5 separate regions of the Homo sapiens genome follow, and regions 1, 2, 4 and 5 are each linked to region 3. Evidence: promoter capture Hi-C in human tissues and cell types (Jung and others, 2019). All regions are on one chromosome and are shown on one strand. The core of a region is centred on a gene start or on the middle of the fragment in contact, and the rest is flanking DNA. Distances in the headings are between cores, read along the strand shown. Region 1 overlaps SOX1-OT (SOX1 overlapping transcript). Region 2 holds the start of LOC100506016 (a long non-coding RNA gene). Region 3 holds the start of SOX1 (SRY-box transcription factor 1). Region 4 has its middle 27 kb from the start of LINC00404. Region 5 overlaps LOC105370370 (a long non-coding RNA gene).

Region 1 (2,700 bases), core at 12-2,511, 77 kb before region 3:
ACTCCTGGGCTCAAGCAATCCTCCCACTTCAGCCTTCCAAAGTGTTAGGATTACAAGTGTAAGCAATGGTGCCCAGCCTCCACCATTGTATTTTAGAGACACATAATTTGTTAACTTGACAGGCTCACAGCCAGAGAGAAATTTGCCTCAGGATGAATTGTGCCTTGAGTCTCACCCATATCTGCTTTAGGTGAGACTTACTTCAGACTTTTGAGTTGATGCTGAAATGAGTTAAGACTTTTTTGGGAATACTGGGGTGGAATAAATGGCTTTAGCATTGTGAGAAAGACATTGAATGTTGGGGGCCAGGGGAAGAATGCTATAGTTTGAATGTGTCTCCCAAAAAGCATGTGTCAGAAACTTCATCCCCAATGCAACAGTGTTGAGAGGTGGAGCCTGATAAGTCATTAGGTCATAAAGCCTCTGCCCTCATGAGTGGGTTAATGCTGTTTTCTCAGGAGTGGGTGACTTATCATGAGTGGGTTTGTCATAAAGTAGGTTCAGCCACCTCTTGTTCTCCTGCTGTTGTGCACTCTTGCCCTTCTGCCTTCTGCCTGAGATCATGCAGGAAGAAGTTCCTCACCAGATTCCAGCACCATGTTCCTGGACTTCCCAGCCTCCAGAACTGTAAGAAATAACTTACTTTTTTATATAAATTACTCAATCTCAGGTATTCTATTATAGTAAACCAAAATGGAGAGACTTTGGGTTTGAAACATGGACAAACTTCTGAAAGTGCGGCAAAAACTCTTTAAGATCCTATAGACTTTCATTATTAGAAATTCAGAATTTGGTGGTGGTATGGTTTGGCTCTGTGTCCCCACCCAAATCTCATCTTGAATTGTAATCCCCACGTGGGAAGGAGGTGATTGGATCATGGGGGAAGTTCCCCCCATGCTGTGATAGTAAGTAAATTCTCACAAGATCTGATGGTTTTATAAGTGTCTAGAAGTTCCTACATTGTCCTTCTCTCTCCTGCCACCTTGTGAAGAAGGTGCTTGCTTCCCCTTCGCCTTCTGCCATGATCATAAGTTTCCTGAGGCCTCCCCAGCCATGTAAAACTGTAAGTCAATCAAACCTCTTTCCTTTATAAATTACCCAGTCTCAGTTATTTCTTTATAGCAGTGTGAAAATGGAAAAATAAACTGGTACCGGTAGGTTGGTACTGGTATAAAGATACCCAAAAATGTGGAAGTGACTTTGGAACTGGTTGGAACAGTTTGGACAGCTCAGAAGAAGACAGGGGGTTGTGAGAAAGTTTGGAACTTCTTAGAGATTTGTTGAATGTTTTTGACCAAATTGTTATTAGTGATATGGACAATGAAGTCCAGGCTAAGGTGGTCTCAGATGGAGATGAGAAACTTATTGGGAACTGGATCAAAGGTCACTCTTGCTTTAGCAAAGAGACAGGCAACCTTTTGCCCCTGCCCTAGAGATCTGTTGAACTTTGAACTTGAGAGAGATCGTCTGAAACTGGGACTTTTGTTTAAAAAGGAAGCAGGGCATGAAAGTTTGAAAAATTTGCAGCTTGATGATGTGGTAGAAAAGAAAAAATCATTTTCTGGGGAGAAATTCAAGCCAGCTGCAGAAATTTGCATAAGTTACAAGGACCTGAATGTTAATTACCAAGACAATGAGGAAAATGTCTCCAGGGCATGTCAGAGATCTTGATAGCAGCCCCTCCCATCCCATCACAGGCCCAGAGGACTAGGAGGACAAAATGGTTTTGTGGGCTGGGCCCAGGGCCCCCCTGCAGTATGCAGCGTTGGGACTTGGTGCCCTATGTTCCAGTTGCTCCAACCCCAGCCATGACTAAAAAGGGCCAAGGTACAGCTTGGGTGCTGCTTCAGAGGGTGCAAGTCCCAAGTCTTGGTGTCTTCCATGTGGTGTTGGACCTGTAGGTGCACAGAAGTCAAGAATTGAGGTTTGGGAACCTCCACCTAGATTTCAGAGGATATACAGAAATACCTGGATGTCTAGGCAGAATCCTGCTGCAATGGCAGAGCCCTCATGGAGAACCTCTGCTAGGGCAGTGAGGAAGGGAAATGTGGGGTTAGAGCACCCACACAGAATTCCCACTGGGGCACTGCCTAGTGGAGCTCTGAGAAGAGGGCCATCATCCTCCAGAACCCAGAGTGGTAGATCCACTGACAGCTTGCACCATGTGCTTGGAAAAGCCACAGATGCTCAACACCAGCCCATGAAAGCAGCCAGGAGGGGGGCTGCAAAGCCACAGAGGTGGAGCTGTCCATGGCTGTGGGAGCCCACTTCTTGCATCAGTGTGACCTGGATGTGAGACATGGAGTTAAAGGAAATTATTTCAGAGCTTTAAGATTTGATGACTTCCCCACTGGATTTTGGATTTGCATGGGGTCTGTAGCCCCTTTGTTTTAGCCAATTTCTCCCATTTAGAATGGGAGCATTTATCCAATGCCTGTACTCCCACTGTATCTTGGAAGTAACTAACTTGCTTTGGATTTTACAGGCTCATAGGTGGAAGGGACTTGCCTTGTCTCAGATGAGACTTTGGACTTGGACTTTTGAGTTAAGCCAGAATGAGATAAGACTTTGGGGGACTGTTGGGAAGTCATGACTGGTTTTGAAATTTATAAAGGACATGAGATTTAGGAGAGGCCAGGGACAGAATGATATGGTTTGGCTCTTTGTCCCCATCCAAATCCCATCTCCAATTATAATCCC
Region 2 (2,700 bases), core at 39-2,538, 95 kb after region 3:
GTTAAGACCCCTTCTCTTGGGTTGACACCATCCCATGATCACGTGCCCAACCCCTAGGAAGGCAGAGCACATGCATCCTGGCGGACAGCTGCTGTCGATCCATCTGTCAGACTTGCCATAACTAGCATATGGCTGAAGCTTCCGGAAGCACCGTCACAGGCGACTCATTCAGCGCCTGTTTGTTGAGCAGTTACTGCGTTCTCATCACCACCCACACTAGGCGCGGCGTCAACACTCAGTGACCCCGAGAAGTGGCTTTCTCTTCCTTTCCAGGAACAGTGCCTGAAACTTACATTGTCCTCAGATCCATCAAAAGAGTAAACACTAGATCTCATTTATTCAGTGCGCTTAAAAGAAAAACCCATTCACAGTACATTTCCTTCAGCTCTCTGACTCTCCATGTGGTCACAGGCTGGTTTCTACTCGCCAGCTCACTCTAGGACTGTGTGCTATTAGTTTCTACAAATAATTCCACTCGTTGGGTGTCCAGAGAGTCAGGTCATCAGAGTGAACATTTTAAAACTCAGCCACGGGAGCTTCCTAAGGAATGAGAAAGCTGACGCTTTCGATCGCTCTGAAAAATCAAAGTCCTAACAGCTTCATTTTAGTCTCTGCACAAAACAGTCTCATTATTTTTGAAACATCTGATTTGAAGGCGATTTGTGTAAAAAAAAGTGTAAGCCTAGTCCCCTTGTGACTTTAAGGCTAAAAATCAGACAGTTCTCTGTGGGGACATCACCAGAAAACGGCCTCACCTACATTCAAGACGCCTCCTTCCTCCCAACCTGCTAGAATATTAATTCCTGCAGTGGCAATGGTAAAAGGTCAGTGACTTTTCACCTTTTAAAAATGAGTTTCCATGGTAACAAAACCACGATGGACAATTCACAGTGCAAAACAAAACAAAACAAGCCTGAAGTCCGGGCCCTGCTCAAACTTCAGCCGTGAAGACACTCGGCAGCCTAACCACCGTTCACGCAAACTTAGCGATCTGCCTGGTAAACAAAAGCGGAATTCAGACGCTCAGTAGGACCCATGCGCCTGCAATCCCGCCTTGCTGAAAACATTTGAGATTAAAATTTTAGTTTCATGCCTTAGTCCTTCAGCATATGGCAGGTGACTTTCAAACAAAGTAAACGGGAAAGAATAATTGGCTGACGGGAGATGGGAGAAACAATTGTGTCACCAAGTCTGCAGGCCCCAGCGCTCCCCGCAGCCCAGGTTTGTCGGGAAAATGCACCGTATCTGTAGCTCTTGTGGTTCTGGGGGTGGCTTTTGTTTGTGATATTTAATTATACTGGTAGGTCCAAACGAACTACACAATTTATAGACTCCTGTTTCTCATGGAAGAAGCAGAAAGTGATCTATTTGCAGGAGTTATGTATTTTTTTCAGGCACTTTACGGAGACACCCCAACCCCCCTTGGCTGCTGACTGTAAAATAAGAAAACTATTACCCAGCTGGGGCAACAATAGACTCCCACAGTGCCTTTCTGCTCAGCTCACAGCTGCAGGAAAGTGGAGGCTCAGCAGCAGGCAGCATTCTTCCCGCAGCCCCTTCTGTGGGCAGGGAGCCTCCCACTGATCCAATGTATTTCTATGCAAAGCGCAGAAGAAGTGACATTTTAAAAGTTTTGACCTTTTTTTTTTTTTTTTTTTTTTTTGCATGAACCGAAACATACATTTTTTAAACCTTCTGACAGGGTGTCTGTTAGAAAAGGCAATAGCCATTACTGTAATAATAAAATGTTTCAAAATTTGAAAATTCTATATTGAATATAATGCACAGATAACCTTTGTGTAGAAAATGATAGTAATGGGGGCTTGGAACCACTTTCTTATTGTTCCAGGAAAACAGATTATGACAGATTTCAGGCATATTTAGAAAACAATATCACTGGACGCAATGTTTTCATTTGCTAATTTCAGACTTTCATGATTTTTTTTCCCGAAAATGATTTGGAAGAGTTTTGCATTTGTATCATAAAGTGCTTCCATTTAATATTAGCAGTAAGGTTATTTGTTCAGAAAGCCATTCTTTGCATTAAAAAAGCATTATTTATAGAATTTAGTTTTCATACCAACATATTTAGGTATGGTTTTTTTTTTTTAAGTTTAACTTTTATTTGAATCCAAACTTCTCCAAAAAAAAAAAAAAAGACAACAAAATAACCAAGGGACAAAATGACAGCGACTTTTCTTTTAAAGACCTTCCAATTAGTACGGGACATGAATGGGAGAAGGGCTCAAAGTAAAAAAAATAACAGAAAATTAGAGCAAATGTGACGTTAAATTATTTGCAACAAAAGATAGAAGAATGGGAAGGAGATGAGATATCAAATTCTCAAGTTAGAAGATTATGCGACTTTTGAGTCTCAGACTCAAAAGATGCAGGATGGAATGTGACTGTTAAAACAGCTGAGAGGACTGGAGGACTCGGCCTCAGGCTGCTTCTGAGCGCCTTGAGTTTCCTAACTTGCCCAGCTGATCATCGTCATCAGATTTTAACTTTTATTTTCAAGACTAGAAGATGTGCAGGGCGAAGTGAGCATTTATCCTCTCTAAGGTGCTCAAAAATAAATGTTCCAGCCCCTTCTTGGCTTTTCTGAAGCCAACTTAATAAAAATGATCATCTACTCCAACAAGCTGTAATCATCTGACGGGTTCATGCTGTCCACTGCACAGAGAAAACCAACTCACT
Region 3 (2,700 bases), core at 58-2,557:
CATGACGCAGACCGGCGGCTGAGACCCGTCCTGAGGCCCCGCCTTTCATTCGGTTTATGTGGCCCCGCGCAGTTCACGCAGTTTTCTCCGTTCTTAGGCAACCAGCTCGTGGGAAATTCACTCCAGAAAAGCGTGCGCCATATCATTATTTTGCGATTCAACAAACTTTTTCAACTGTTGTTCAGGAACTAGATTCCAGATAGATCTTGTTGTGTTCGGCCTTCCTAGAAATTCCTTTTCCAGAGGAAGAAGATCCGGGTTGGGAAGAGTGCGTGACTATGGCCCCGGGCTCATTGAAAGACTCCTCCCCACAAAAGTTTAGGGCTGATACTAAACGAAGCTATGGAGCCATGCCCACACAAATACTCCCCCTTTACCCGAATTGTGGGGCCTGGACTGTGAAGGCCTTCGCTGCAAGAGCGGGCACTGGCGAACTTCAGTGCACGCCGCGGCCGAGAACGGATGCAGGGCGGGGGATGGCTGAGCCGCCTGATCCTTGCAGAGAACCTGCAGGGGCCCTCGGAGGGTATCCCCTGCGTCCAAGGGAGCGCCCCTCCTTTTCAGCACTCGGGGGAACTGAGGGCGACGTGCCAGCCCCGCACTCAACTTTCCCCTTCCCTGCAGGCACAGAGTTGGCCGGCGGGGGCAGAGGAGGAGCTGGGTCTCCACTGCGCCCGTTTAAACCTGGCCAGGGGCTGCGTTTCCTCCCCCCACCCCACGACGATCCTTTCTTAGTCTTCGCTTTTCAACCCAATCGTTAATCATTCGGAACGCGCGGGCGGGGAGCGGCGAGGAGGGCGAGCTCGGGGTTCGCCGCCGCCGCCGCCGCCGCGCGCGCGCGCTCAGGAAGCGGTGTGGCTGTCACCCCCTCCCGGGCCTCCTCCCCCCTCCTTCCTGCTTTGCTCCCCCTCCTTCCTCCCCTCCTCCCCGCTCCGCCGCCCGCGCCCAGTGTATCTACTCCCTCCCCACGTCACTCGCCAGCGCGCCATGCAAATCACCGCCGCCGCCGGCTCCCATTGGCCGCGGCGCGCTCATTTAATGGCAGCCCGGGCCCGGCGTATGGCTGCTGGGCCCCGCGCGCCGCCGGCCCCGCGTGCGCCTCCGCTCCGAGCGCACGGCCCCGGGCAGGCAGCGGGCAGCCCATCCCGGGCTCGGCGGCCCCGGCTCTCCGGCCCTCTCCGCGAGCCCGCGCTCCTCCCGCTGTCCCCGGGCCCCTCCCTGGCTGCACCGTAATCGCCCCCTGCAGGCCCCCCTGCGCCTCCCCCCCCCCGCCACTGGCGCCTGGCTTCCCCCGGGCACCTGGGACCAGCACATGCCCAGCGCACGCGGCGCGCCGCCCTGCTAGAAGTTGCAGCCTCCGAGTTGGAGGCCGCTGAGGACCGAGCGCAGGAGGAAGGAGACAGCGCGCAGCGGCGGCCGGCGAGGAGACAGCACACCCCGGGCCGGGCCCAGCGCACCGCTCCCGGCCCCAAAAGCGGAGCTGCAACTTGGCCACGACTGCACCTGTTTGCACCGCTCCGCCGAGGGCGCCTGGGCTGCGGTGGCGGCGAAGACGGCGACCCCGACCGTCGGCCTCTTTGGCAAGTGGTTTGTGCATCAGGAGAAACTTTCCACCTGCGAGCCGAACCGGCGCCGAGTGCGTGTGTTTCTGCCTTTTTTTGTTGTCGTTGCCTCCACCCCTCCCCATTCTTCTCTCCGCTAGGACCCCCCCGCCCCCGTCTCACTCCGTCTGAATTCCTCTCCGTCTCCCTCCCACCCCGGCCGTCTATGCTCCAGGCCCTCTCCTCGCGGTGCCGGTGAACCCGCCAGCCGCCCCGATGTACAGCATGATGATGGAGACCGACCTGCACTCGCCCGGCGGCGCCCAGGCCCCCACGAACCTCTCGGGCCCCGCCGGGGCGGGCGGCGGCGGGGGCGGAGGCGGGGGCGGCGGCGGCGGCGGGGGCGCCAAGGCCAACCAGGACCGGGTCAAACGGCCCATGAACGCCTTCATGGTGTGGTCCCGCGGGCAGCGGCGCAAGATGGCCCAGGAGAACCCCAAGATGCACAACTCGGAGATCAGCAAGCGCCTGGGGGCCGAGTGGAAGGTCATGTCCGAGGCCGAGAAGCGGCCGTTCATCGACGAGGCCAAGCGGCTGCGCGCGCTGCACATGAAGGAGCACCCGGATTACAAGTACCGGCCGCGCCGCAAGACCAAGACGCTGCTCAAGAAGGACAAGTACTCGCTGGCCGGCGGGCTCCTGGCGGCCGGCGCGGGTGGCGGCGGCGCGGCTGTGGCCATGGGCGTGGGCGTGGGCGTGGGCGCGGCGGCCGTGGGCCAGCGCCTGGAGAGCCCAGGCGGCGCGGCGGGCGGCGGCTACGCGCACGTCAACGGCTGGGCCAACGGCGCCTACCCCGGCTCGGTGGCGGCGGCGGCGGCGGCCGCGGCCATGATGCAGGAGGCGCAGCTGGCCTACGGGCAGCACCCGGGCGCGGGCGGCGCGCACCCGCACGCGCACCCCGCGCACCCGCACCCGCACCACCCGCACGCGCACCCGCACAACCCGCAGCCCATGCACCGCTACGACATGGGCGCGCTGCAGTACAGCCCCATCTCCAACTCGCAGGGCTACATGAGCGCGTCGCCCTCGGGCTACGGCGGCCTCCCCTACGGCGCCGCGGCCGCCGCCGCCGCCGCTGCGGGCGGCGCGCACCAGAACT
Region 4 (2,700 bases), core at 103-2,602, 66 kb after region 3:
GCAGGAGCAGCCCACAGAGCACCCGGCGAACGGAGGCATGTGCCCAGCGTGGATGACTCCAAGAGCAACAGCACTCCCTCGGGAATGAATCTGCAGAGTGGAACAGCTTTTCCCTCCTCCTTCCTTGTTTTTAAAAAAATGTTCCGCCATGCTACTTGTGGAAGCATGAAGTGGAGGGGCAGGAAGCCGCCTGCCCACCATGGAGCAACGGCGGCTGCCGAGGAAGGCGGAGTCTGAGCCGGGCACATCCCTGCCCGGCCGCAGATATACACGGAGGTTCTGAACAGTAGGACTGCACTGTCTTCCGGGCTGAATGACTCCAAATAACATCTGCCCAGACAGTTTGAAAAGCAGGTTGGTGTTGTATTTGGATATCTATGTTAAAGACTGCCACTTAAAAGTTGCCTTTACACATATAGTTCATGATATATACCTGGAATAAGTTAGAAGCTAAAAGCAACACACATAACAGTTAGGTTCTCACCAAACTTAACTCTCTTGGATTCTCAGGAATATTACCACTAAAGAAAGGCTTATACCGACTGAGTTAAAAATCTCCAAGCAGCAGCTCCAGAAGGGAGCATGACGCCCAAGCCCCTCCAGTGCTGGGCCAACACTCCACGCAGGCACCCAAAGCTCAGGTGACCCACCAAGCACGTTCAGCACCCATCGCCCCACTGCACAGAGCTGGCGCCATCCAGGAAGTCTTTTCCCTCGAGAGCCACAGCAGAGGGTCAGACATTCATCTTCCACCACTAAACCATCAGCTACACCAAACCCTGTGTTCACACCGCAAAGAGAATTGCCATCCCCTGTGTGTCTGCTCTGCATCCTCAATAGATACGCCCAGTGGTGTCTATTCTAACCCACATGCAGGCTGGTTCCATGAGCAGGTGAATCGCCCTGACCATTTAAATGGTTCAAAGAGCACCTGAGGAAGTGTCCTTCGTGGGTGGACGTCAGGAAGCAGGGCCGTCTTCCTGCCACCGCAGCTGCAGTGGAGATGACCACAATGAAGCAACATCTCGACAACCTCAAGCTCACAGTGTCTCCTTGAAGATTCCAATTTGCATGCTGGGTGGTAGGATTCACTGTCTATACCCATCCCCTTCCACAGATTATGATCCCAGCTTGTGCACAGCCCAAGTCAAGCCAAGAAGTTAATACAGAATAAATGTGCAGTATCTTTTGATTACGGGGCAAATACATGTCTGTGACCCTACATCATGTGGCACATACACCTGGAGGTGACTGATAAGTGTTTCTCATGTGATAAATAAAGCTTGAATTTCTCCAGGTAGAGCTGGATGAGTAGAGGAAGCCTCCGGATGGCATTCCCATTTTCATTTTGTAAAGCAGAGAATTGCACTGAACTCTAATGCCTTAGTGCTGTGACGTTACACAGAATACGTTCCTTTGTCCATCATGCATTATATTGCTTCTGTATCACAAAATATCCTCCCAGCTACCTCCTCAAATACACAGAAGCCACTTGCATGAGTACATACACAAAGAGGGTAAAACAGTGCCACTCACGGACTAACGCGGCCACACGGAAGATACTGCAGCAGGCTTGCCTTTGTCTTAGAACCAAGAGTGTGGGGCAGTCATGACCCACAAGGAGGACATTTTTTGGCAGTCAGCAAGTGACCAAGGAAGTTTAAGACCCTGGAGTGAAATCAAAAGCCCTTAAGAAAGAAAAACTTAAATGAAAATGGCCAGTTGTTCATTAATCACCAGGAGTTGTCTGACCCAGGGCGGGGGCAGTCTTATTGCTATTATAAACCATACAAATGTAAAGAAGAAAGTAATTGCCTCCTTTATAGACTGAAAAGTTAAATGTGGAGCTGCTGGTTACCGTGGACACGCTGGACTGTTTACAGCCCCGGTGTAAACAGTGGCCAGAGAGAAAGCAGCATTTCCTTCCTAATGACATTCATTAGGGTCACTTTTTTTTAGCGGGTCCTTTCTCTGAAAATGAATCCCCACTGATTATACACACGCCTTCACAGATAAAATCACATCGAAGAGAGCGGTGCGAGTGTGTGCCGGGAACCAGCCACGTGTCCATCTGATTCTGCCGTGGAACTTTCTCCGCCAGAGGTGGCAGCGAACTAACACACCCTGTCCCTTGTCCACCGAGAGAGAGACATGGATGCGCAGAGCTGTGAGCGGTCGGACCTCTGTCCCATGAGGAAGCCCGGATGACCTCTGCGTTCTGGAAACTGCTTCTGCTTTAGTCATTTCATCGGCTGACCTGTTACAGGGCTTCTGTCTGGATGCAGGGGAGGCATGGCAGGGGCCTGTGGAGGAGCCCAGGAGGGAAATGGGGCCCGACTGGAGGGTGGTGGAGCGTCATGGTGCCTCTTTCATCAGGCCTTTAGGAAACACAGGGAAGTCTGCTGCTGTGTATGGACACCATTATGACCCTGACTTACTCTCAAGGACTCACTCCTAGGCTGGAGCTGACCTGGCGTTCCACGGCCACCAGCCCAGGTTCATGAGGCTTCAGCTGCCATCACTAGTGTTTCTCTCCCGCTTCTTCAGTTTCAGAAACGATCATCATCCCCCTTTATCCTGAAAGCCCCAGTCCCTGTTTTCACAGAAATAACAATGTTCCCCTAAAGAAAAGGAACACCAGAGAATTGGATTCAAGATCTAAATGACCTCAGTAACCACACTGTTTCGGATTTCCGGGAA
Region 5 (2,700 bases), core at 18-2,517, 120 kb after region 3:
TGGAGCGGCTGAGCTCACTTGGAGGAGGAGGTAAGGAGCAGAGCCCAGTGTCTGAATGAGATTCCTGTCCACAGGAAATGAGCAAGCACCTGTCCACAGAGGGGGCAGGCCAGGGAAGTGGCTCCACAGTCCCACCTGGAGACAATGCAGTGTCAGGCCAGGAGCGTCCGACTTCCAAGTGGCCCCGTGGGTCCGCGTGTGTGTGTGGACAGGGCCAGCGGCTGTTTTCCGCTGAGACCAGCCTTAGCCAATTATGTAAGTGCCCAGAAATGACATCCATTTAGTATCTTGCTCTGTGGAGGAAAAAGCTCCCCACTAATAACAACACCAACTACATAGCCTCTCAGACAGTTGCAGTAATTTTCACATTATTCCAGACCCATTCATTGTCTGACAGTTTGGTACTTCAGTTATTTTCCTACTTCTGCTTAAACTCTCCCCAAGGGAATAAGCTAATTAGTTTAACTCTTTTTGCACCTGGCTGGTGTGTGTGTTTATGGCTTTGCTTGCAATGTGTAATGACCCCTCCCAGTCTCATTCACTCTTCGTGGTCAGAGGGCCCGAACCTGTGCAGGTGCATGTACTAGAAATATGCAGGAGAGTCCACAAGTCCTGGCTAAGTCCTGAGCCTAAGGAAATCCAGCTGAAAACCAAATTCAGGAGTTGGGGTGCAAAGCTGAGAAGACAGGGGCTCTGGGCTGAGCCAGCAGGTATGCTCACAGCTGGGTGTGAATGAGGCAAGGGCCAGAGACAGCCAGGAGAGGCCTGGAGACCAGAGGCTTCCAGCAGGGAGGGAGGGGGCAGGTGGCAGCGTCTGCAGTGGAGGAAGTGCTGCCCCATGAGAAGCACAGTCCGTCCTGTCCAGACTGCCCAGGGCTGTGAGGGCCCACAGTCCCAGGAGATGTCCAGGCCAGAAAGGGCAGCCTCTTAGCGGCAATGAGGCAGAGGGAGCCTGGCCCCGGGCAAGGGGCCTGCGCACTGCACTCCATGCTCCCAGCTGCGTGACTCCCCCTCACTGACGAACTTATGTGGTGGAGAAGGGCAGATGCTGAAGAGACCCCGGAGGGACATCCCTACTCCAGCGTCACCCTCCCAGGACGGTGAACTGTGCGAGTGAATTCACACACCTGCCTTGATGGTAGGGATGTCCCTCCTCCAGCGTCACCCTCCCAGGACGGTGAACTGTGCGGGTGAATTCACACACCTGCCTTGATGGTAGGGACGTCCCTCCTCCAGCGTCACCCTCCCAGGACGGTGAACTGTGCGGGTGAATTCACACACCTGCCTTGATGGTAGGGACGTCCCTCCTCCAGCGTCACCCTCCCAGGACGGTGAGCTGTGCGGGTGAATTCACACACCTGCCTTGGTGGTAGGGACGACCTAGATGGAATCGGAGGGCATTGGGAGCATTCAGCACAGAGGCTTTCAAACGTGGGGCACTTTCTTTGGATGGAAGCAAAGGGGAAACCCCCCGAAGTCCCCCCGCACGGCTGCCATGCAGGCTCAGGGTCAGGTTCTCCTCCTTCAAGGCTGGAGTGCCTGGGCTCCATCGTCAGCCTCCTTCTCCACCTGCGTTGGTTCCTTAGCCAAAGCCATCCAGTCCGGGCCTGCAGCTGGGAGACAGGGAAGAAGAGGATGTGTGGGGCCCGTGGCACTTGACCTGGGTGACATGAGGGTCACTTCAAACACGGCCAGTGTGCAGCCTCCCAGGTCCCTGAGGTCGGCGTCTCCGGGTCAACCCTTAGTGACATCTCCAGGCCCAGGTGGCCTTGAAGTGTGGACACAGGTGGGCACCACTGGGACAAGCAGCCGTTCCCACACCAGCAGCCAGTTCCCACGCCAGCAGCCAGTTCCCACACCGGCAGTACCCACACCCAGGGAAAGGGAGACCGTGCCCGGGGCTGGCCCCTCGGGACGGCCTAGGCGTGAGTGCCAGTGACATAACCAATTCTGAGGAAATTGCAAAAGACAAGGCATGCACTTTGAGTGGTTGCGTAACAGGCTGTGAAGGGCCTCTGCCTGAAATGCTTGTATTTTTCAGAAAGCCTTGTTACAACCTGCCATAACAAAATTCCGCAGACTGGGTGGCTTACTTCTTCGTGGTTCTGGAGGCCGGAAGTCCAAGACCAAGGTGTGAGTAGGGCTGGTTCCTCCGGAGGCTCCTCTCCTGGGCTTCTGGATGCTGCCCTCTGCCTGTGTCCTCGCCCGGCCGTCCCTGTGTGTGTCTGTCCTAACCTCCTCTTCCTATAAGGACACTGGTCCTACTGGATGAGGGCCAACCCCTATGGCTTCATTTTACCCAACGATCTCTTTAAGACCCCACTGCCAAATGCGGTCCCATTGGGAGGTCCTGGGGGTGAGGGCTGCAGTGTATGAAAGTGGGGGAGACGCAGTGCAGCTGGTGACGCAGCCCCGCAGAGCTGAGCGCGTTGCCCGGCACACACTCGTGCCGACTCAGTGTGCGGCTGGGTTGGTGGCCCCTCGAAGGCGTCTGTTAAATTTGTTTATTTCTAGCATCGCAGAGTCACCAAGAAAGCGAGGCTGGAGCTCCACTCTCTCTGTGGGTTTGTCGTCACGCAGTGCAGCTTTCTCACAGAGTGGATCAAAGACTCACCACACTTTAAAAAAAGGAAGAAGAAAGAAGAAGAAGAAGGAGAAGGAGAAGGGGAAGGACAAAAATTTCAGATAAGTTGACTCCTG

What was found. The method cuts DNA at HindIII sites, captures the fragments that hold promoters and counts their contacts. A contact is called where the count stands out against the background at its distance.
Region 1: a fragment that was not itself captured here is called in contact with the fragment with the promoter of SOX1 in region 3 in 5 of the 25 tissues and cell types used here (bladder, dorsolateral prefrontal cortex, hippocampus and 2 more).
Region 2: a contact is called between a fragment that was not itself captured here and the fragment with the promoter of SOX1 in region 3, in 4 of the 25 tissues and cell types used here (H1 embryonic stem cells, liver, lymphoblastoid cells and 1 more).
Region 4: a fragment that was not itself captured here is called in contact with the fragment with the promoter of SOX1 in region 3 in 8 of the 25 tissues and cell types used here (adrenal gland, aorta, dorsolateral prefrontal cortex and 5 more).
Region 5: a contact is called between a fragment that was not itself captured here and the fragment with the promoter of SOX1 in region 3, in 10 of the 25 tissues and cell types used here (H1 embryonic stem cells, IMR-90 fibroblasts, bladder and 7 more).

What each region holds. Positions count from the first base shown.
Region 1 is chr13:111,988,830-111,991,529 of GRCh38, forward strand. The region is part of intron 1 of SOX1-OT (SOX1 overlapping transcript); the gene reads left to right. Among named protein-coding and RNA genes, the nearest start is that of SOX1-OT, 18 kb to the left of the region's middle. The HindIII fragment of the contact is 4,707 bases long and covers 1-2,700 here.
Region 2 is chr13:112,160,609-112,163,308 of GRCh38, forward strand. LOC100506016 (a long non-coding RNA gene) reads right to left here and starts at 102. Exons shown (of 2, transcript NR_134944.1): 1 at 1-102. RefSeq lists enhancers at 1-189, 2,674-2,700. The HindIII fragment of the contact is 8,047 bases long and covers 1-2,700 here.
Region 3 is chr13:112,065,842-112,068,541 of GRCh38, forward strand. SOX1 (SRY-box transcription factor 1) reads left to right here and starts at 1,308. Exons shown (of 1, transcript NM_005986.3): 1 at 1,308-2,700. The coding sequence starts at 1,818. The region is part of intron 1 of SOX1-OT (SOX1 overlapping transcript); the gene reads left to right. The HindIII fragment of the contact is 28,986 bases long and covers 1-2,700 here.
Region 4 is chr13:112,132,154-112,134,853 of GRCh38, forward strand. No RefSeq gene overlaps it. Among named protein-coding and RNA genes, the nearest start is that of LINC00404, 27 kb to the left of the region's middle. The HindIII fragment of the contact is 7,382 bases long and covers 1-2,700 here.
Region 5 is chr13:112,181,506-112,184,205 of GRCh38, forward strand. LOC105370370 (a long non-coding RNA gene) reads right to left here. Exons shown (of 6, transcript XR_944288.1): 4 at 136-1,613. Among named protein-coding and RNA genes, the nearest start is that of LINC01070, 14 kb to the right of the region's middle. RefSeq lists an enhancer at 1,962-2,700. The HindIII fragment of the contact is 5,467 bases long and covers 1-2,700 here.